Linked DNA regions of Homo sapiens: region 2 is linked to region 1. Evidence: promoter capture Hi-C in 16 types of primary human blood cells and fetal thymus (Javierre and others, 2016). All regions are on one chromosome and are shown on one strand. The core of a region is centred on a gene start or on the middle of the fragment in contact, and the rest is flanking DNA. Distances in the headings are between cores, read along the strand shown. Region 1 holds the start of DPPA3 (developmental pluripotency associated 3). Region 2 overlaps CLSTN3 (calsyntenin 3).

Evidence for each region. Contacts are between HindIII fragments. The CHiCAGO score rates a contact against its expected background, and 5 or more counts as called.
Region 2: a contact is called between a fragment that was not itself captured here and the fragment with the promoter of DPPA3 in region 1, in 1 of 17 cell types (M1 macrophages). The highest score is 5.1, in M1 macrophages.

What each region holds. Positions count from the first base shown.
Region 1 is chr12:7,709,969-7,713,297 of GRCh38, reverse strand. It overlaps DPPA3 (developmental pluripotency associated 3), which reads right to left and starts at 1,865. Exons shown (of 4, transcript NM_199286.4): 1 at 1,646-1,865. The coding sequence starts at 1,727. The HindIII fragment of the contact is 13,723 bases long and covers 1-3,329 here.
Region 2 is chr12:7,152,651-7,155,979 of GRCh38, reverse strand. The region is part of intron 16 of CLSTN3 (calsyntenin 3); the gene reads right to left. Among named protein-coding and RNA genes, the nearest start is that of CLSTN3, 24 kb to the right of the region's middle. The HindIII fragment of the contact is 748 bases long and covers 1,221-1,968 here.

The sequences.
Region 1 (3,329 bases), core at 616-3,115:
ACGCAGGGGACACAGCTAAGACCAGGCGCAGAGGGCGTCAGCGCGCCAGCGGCCCAGTTCCCAGACCTCCCAGCATCGGGCAGTCGAAGGTGTTGGCTCCAGGGTTTCTGCCGCCACCACCCTAGACACCCAGCCCCGCTGTCAGGGTCATAAATAAGACTTCAAACCACGTGGAGGGCCTCTGTGGCCAAGCCCGCGCTTGGGTGCTGCTGTAAGAAAGGAGTTCTCCACCGGAAGACCCGGCCTATCAGGGAGCAGAATTACCCAAGCAGTTTCTAGATAAGCCGCCCTCCGGTGGAGGTCCTGCTACTAATTTACATTACGGAGCACGTTTACGGCCTCTCCCTTCCATTTTCCCAGTGAAGCTGTTAGTCTGTTTATTAACATTTAGCTGGAAAGCCTGTCTCAAAAATGTTGGCTTAGAGCCCGGACTCGGTGGCGCACGCCTGCAGTCCCAGCTACGCAAGAGGATGGACTGAACCCAAGTGTTCGATACCAGCCTGGGCAACATGGAGAGACCCACTGTCAAAAATAAAAATAAAAATAAAAATAGGACGGGCGCGCTGGCTTACGCCTGTAATCCCAGCACTTTGGGAGGCAGAGGTGGGCGGATCACGACGTCAGGAGATCGAGACCAGTCTGGCCAACATAGTGAAACCCTGTCTCTACTAAAAATACAAAAGATTAGCCGGGCGTGGTGGCACATGCCTGTAATCCAGCTACTTTGGAGGCTGAGACAGGAGAATTGCTTGAACCCGAGAGGCGGAGGTTGCAGTGAGCCGACACCGCGCCACTGCACTCCAGCCCGGGCGACAGAGACTCCGTCTCAAAAAAATATATAAATAAAAATAATGTTGGCGAGAGATTAAGAAAAACTTTAGGTTCAACTGAAGTTAAAGTTTCTCATATTGTTTCATTTTTTTTCCCTATCTTTTGTTTATTTGGTCTCTGTATTTGTTCCTTTTTACCGTTCCTGACATGTATTTGCTGTTGGGGAAGATACTGATGCAACGACGCTACGAGCCGCGTTCTGTGATTCCAATTATTTATCCCCAGAAACTGGTCTTAGAAATCTGAAGTACTGGCCGGGCGCAGTGGCTCAAGCCTGTAATCCCAGTACTTTGGGAGGCCGAGGCGGGCGGATCACGAGGTAAGGAGATCAAGACCACCCTGGCTAACACGGTGAAACCCCGTCTCTACCAAAAATACAAAAAAAAAAACGGGCGCGGTGGCGGGCGCCTGTAGTCCCAGCTACTTGGGAGGCTGAGGCAGGAGAATGGCGTGAACCCAGGAGGCGGAACTTGGAGTGAGCCGAGATCGCGCCACTGCACTCCAGCCTGGGCGACAGAGCAAGACTCCGTCTCAAAAAAAAAAAAAGAAAAAAAAAGAAAGAAATCTGAAGTACTCCTAAGCATAGTGAATAAAATAATACATTTCTCACCACCACCATCACCGCTTTTAATAAAGTCTTTGACCTCTCTGTGTTGACTCCCTCTGGTTTGAGGTTTACCTAAATACATTCCTCTTGCAAAGACTGAAGTCAACATTAAAAAAAAAAAAAAAAAAAAAAAAAAAAAGACGGCAGCCTTTTGACCTCCCAACCCCCCTATAGTCAGATAGTCAAGAAGGGCATTATCTGGCTTACCTGAATCGTCCCGGGAATTTTCTTCGGTGAGCATTTGTGGAGACCCTGGGATGTAGGTTGGATTAAACTGTGATGGGTCCATCGGCGTCTTGACACAACACTAGGCTTCTCCAGGATCTTTGAAACGTAGCAGAAACTGATGACAGAGCCTCAAATTGCTACCAGGTAGCCCGGAAAGAGGCTGAAAACCGGAGCTCCAACGAATGGTCAAAGAACTGACGTAAACTATAGGTCCGGCTTCCTTTTAAAATACAGATAAGCCAATCTTCCAGGATATTTGAATGTTAATGATCCCATGATTAGAGGATTAAGGGATCCAAATGATTAAAGGTGAATGGGTGTAGTTTAGACTCATAGGGTAGTTCTTCATCTGCTTTGCATTAAAATAATCTGTCGGATGTCATATCTGCTAGAAAATTTATTAAAATCCTCTTTTTGTGGTTCTGTCTCCCTGAGGTTGCCTTACATATAAGTTGTTTTTTTCTTGTTTTTTTTTTTTTTTTTTTTTCCCAAACTCTACTCCTGGAGATGGCTTCTGTTTTGTGAACTGGGCTTAAGTGTTCTAGTGCAGAGGAGAATGGCAGTTTTTACCGCCCCCGCCCCACCACCACCACTGCCCATAAACTCCCAATTAAGCTGAGAAAGTTTCCTTTAAGTTTTCCTTGCTTCAATCATCTTAAACCTTTGCTGCTACTAAGAAGAGAGGAATAATGAAGAAGTATCTGTTATGAACACTTTCATAGCTTGATATTTTAGGGACATGTATTTTTTATTTGTTAATTTGCTTTATAAACTATAAACAGTACCTAACATTTCTGAGCAGCTGAAATTAACTAACCTTACAAATTGCTACTCCCTCCCCACAAAAAAATGCTTGTATTTGTAGCAAAGCACAACAACATTTAACCACTGATTGTCTGCAGGAGGTGGAAGAACAAGTCCCCAGCTGCCCCTCTCATCTTTTTCCCGTCTTATTCAAATACGCACGTTCCCCCATTCCCTCTCTAGGTGGAAACCACGAGAAAATACTCAAAGGCAACCTTGTTTGGGTTTGGTAAAAAGCAAAAATTGAAGTTATGATTAAGAAATATTTTCATAGAGAATGAGCAGCCATAGGCATAGATCATGTCCCAACACTTTATGCAAGTGATTCTCAAAAGTGTGGTCTCCAGGATCGCTTAATCACCCAGCAGTTAAAGGCTGCAGTGACCTATGATCGTGCCACTGCACTCCAGCCTGGTAGACAGGGCAGGACCCTGCCTCTTGGGAAAAAAAAAAAAGTGCAGTTTACAACAAGCACCTAGTTAACTTAGATATACAAATTCTGAGCTCCAAACCAGCCCTACTGAATCAAAGACTGGCGCCCAGTGGTAATGCTTTAACAAGCCTCCCAGGCAATTCTGCATTTAGCCAGAAGACCCAGAAGTGATCCCCAGGTGATTCTGATGGGTGCTCAAGTTAAGCAGCCCTGCTTTACGGCACTGTGAACTTTCTACTTCTGTTGTTCAGCTCTTGGCTAATCTCCCTCTTGCCTGGGGAATCTCTGATAATCAGTCCGCAAGAATTTCACTGGAGAGATAAATACAAAAAAATCCCATTGCAGGGGGTTTAGGATTAGGAGGTGAGATAACAAAAAGGGCTGAAATAGACTCTCATTTGTAAAAAACCTAGGCTGGGCACAGTG
Region 2 (3,329 bases), core at 345-2,844, 560 kb after region 1:
GGCCCAGGAGCTCCTCACACTCACACCCACACCCTGCTGCAGCGCCCCTCTCCCCAGCAGCCAGCACACTCAGCTGCCACGCACTCCAGGGCCAACTAGGTGTGTGGAGAATGCCCTGCCTGGGCAGGCCACACACCTCCCTGAGGCCACCCTGATGGCTGTCTGCCAAGTTGGTCCCCATCCTGACCCACAGCCCACTTGAGGCCACCAGCCAATTAGAACGGACTCTGCTGGGGCACACTCCCTCGACACTGGTTCCAAGGTGAAGACAGGACTGGCTGGATCAGTATTTCTCAACTTCCTGGGAACGGGGGATAAGGGAGGAGGGGACAGAGCTGTCTCTCCTGCCCATCTGCAGGAAATAGTGTCTCTCAGGTCTCCACGTCAACAGACCAGAGCCAGGGGCAGTGCCTTCACTGGCAGATGGGCCCAGTGGCTAAGCCCAGGCTCCAGAAGGGGTGGTGACCCCACCCTCAGAGTGGAGGCCAAAGCAGGTGAACTTCCTCTAAGCACACAACGATGACGAGCTAAAGCTGGTTTGCGCCCTAATCAATGCAGTGTCCCTCCGAGCTCCTGGCCTAATGAAGGAAATGACAAGTTGATTGCCAGGACAATAAGAAATGACCACAGGAAAGACAAAATGCAGACACTCTATCTACAAGCAAACAAGTCTGGTTAATTAGTTTAAGATGAGTCAGGAGCCCGGGGAGATGGGAGGATTTTTAAATCAGCTACAGATAAAAATCAAGAATTTAAGAAGTGCGTTCAGCTTTTCTTGCTACATGAGATCTGAGCAGTTAATTCTGGCCTTGAATGACCTCCAGAGCCAACATTAAGGGGTGACTTAGCAAATGGTCCATGGGATTGCGAGGACAGTGGAAAGCCCTGTCCATGGCCCCACACGGTGCTCTCTTTGCAAAGAGCCTTGGGAGAGATTTCTTTCTGCCCCCCGCACTCCCAGGGCTTTTCATGAAATAGCGTTTGGCTCCTATCACGGCTCTCAGAACTGCTCAGGTTTCCTTTTGCTTTAGCTTTGAAGAAGCTCAGGGTCAAAATTCTGGCCCGTGGTAGCAACTGCATAGCATCTCATAGTACGCATGTTATGAGCTGACTTTATTCCCTGGCTTCATTGGATCCTTATTTCATCATTACCTGTTCCTCCTTACTTCCTCATTCATTTTCTTTTTGTCCTATTGCTTTGTAACTCTTTCTGCAAAGCTTCAGATACTTGTAGGAAACAAAAGAGGAAAATTATTCCCAAACTTTTAAAGATTACATGGGATTTTTAAAAACCACTGACACGTGGCTCCCACCCCCTAGACATTCTAGGGTATAATTTAGGTGCCGAGAGTTTTTAAAGCTCCCCAGGTGATTCTGGCAGTCATCAAAATTTGATATGAGTAGATACATAATACCCTCATCATCCGGCTTGCTCTTCTCAACCAACCTTATTCTCTCTAACCATAAACACTCTTAACCACCTATCTACCCCCGGTTCTCAAATTCCCATTCTCTCTCACACCCATCCAAAAATCCCTTTTACAGTTCAGGTCCAAATGCAAACTCTACATGTGCCACAAAATCTCCCCTGACTGTTCCAGTTTACCCTGGTTCCAGTTCACATTCATCTCTCTTTCTCTAGTGCACTTAGGAGATTTAGAGCAATGGGCCTCCGTGCCACTGGAGGAGATCGTACCTCTCACTGCTTCTGCATGTTTAGAATGGTTTGATATTGTGAAACCACAGTTCTGCAACACCACTCGAGATTTGTAGGTGAAAGGGAGGGAGCACCTTGCGGAGTCAGAAAAGGCATATGGAAAGGGTTTTATGCCGTGAATGGCCTGTCAGCTCAGGCATGCCAATCACCAGTGCCCTCAGGGAAGCTACGAACTCTGTGTCCTATTCAGGTCAAAATAAGAGAAGAAGCAAAGGAAAACTGCTGCTCTCAACTGAAATCTGAGGGAAGCTTGATCAGCCTGGACATGAGCTCAGAACAAAGGATGGGGAGACTGGGCTTCACCGAGGGGAGGTGAAAGGGTGCCGTGAACAGACACTCCTCCAGGGGCTGAGGGGTGAGAAACGCTGCCCGCCAGACCAGCCCATGCAGGGCAGCTGGACACTCAGGGGAGAAGGTGCTGGGCTCCTAGAACAAGAAGTCTCTCACCTGGGGCCTTATACCAAAGAAAGTAAGGATCGAGAATCTCACCAGGCCAGGCAGCACCCCTATCTACCTTGAGCCTAATCAGAGTAGCAGGACCTAGTATCCAACCAGAAAAGATTGAGTGGAATGATCCCCAATGAAAGAACTGGAGAAAGTGCTATGGAATCACAAGAAGGAAAAAAATTTATAGCTGGCCTCAAGAGTTTATTTGAAATAAATAGGTTTAGCTTGCTAACATGTCTCTATTGACTAAATACTATGTGAAACTTCTCTAATCTTTGCAGCTTGGTTATGCCTTATATTCCCCGCTAATCCTCACTTCCACCTACTTGCTATAGTGAATCACAGTAGAACACTGAAAAAGGCGTCTGCAAGTCCAAGTGCGGCGGCTCACACCTGTAATCCCAGCACTCCGGGAAGCTGAGCCAGGATGACCGCTTGAGCCTAGGAGTTCAAGACCAGCCTGAGCAACAAAGTGAGACCTTGTCTCTATAAAAAGTCTTAAAAATAGCCAGGCATAGTGGCATGCATCTGCTCCTCAGGGGGCTAAGGCAGGAGGATTGCTTGAGCTCAGGAGTTCGAGGCTCCAGTGAGCTAGGATTACCACTGCTCTCCAGCCTAGGCGACAGAACAAGACCCTGTCTCTCCCTCCCAAAAGCCTCTGCGGTTGTTTTCAGGGACAGCAAGGAAGAAGGGAGCCAGTCCCAGAAAAATAAAATAAAATAAAATAAGAGACAGTGTAGGTGGTGGCCGTTGCACAAGGAGAGGAAGCCAGACTGAATCCCTGGGGGCATCAGAGGAGCTGGCCTCAGTCAGAAAACCCTGGGAAGCCCCTCAGGGGCTCCCCCTAATTATATGCAACTCTAAAGTAATAAGACTAATCTTTTTTAAAGCATCAAACATCTGGGGAGAAGGGTGAGGGCCATGGTTAGTGCACAGACTGGAATCATGCCTCCTGGATTTAAATCCTGGCTCCACTTACTTTCTAGCTGCGTGAACTTGGGTAAGGCACTTGAACTCTCTGTGCCTCTGTGTCCTTGCCTGTAAAGGGGATAATTCTGGTACCCATTTCATTGGTTGTTTATGATGGCTAAATGAGTTAATAAGCGTAATCCCCCGAGCACAGTGCCTGGCACATGATGAGAGCACCCTGTGTTTGTTATAATTA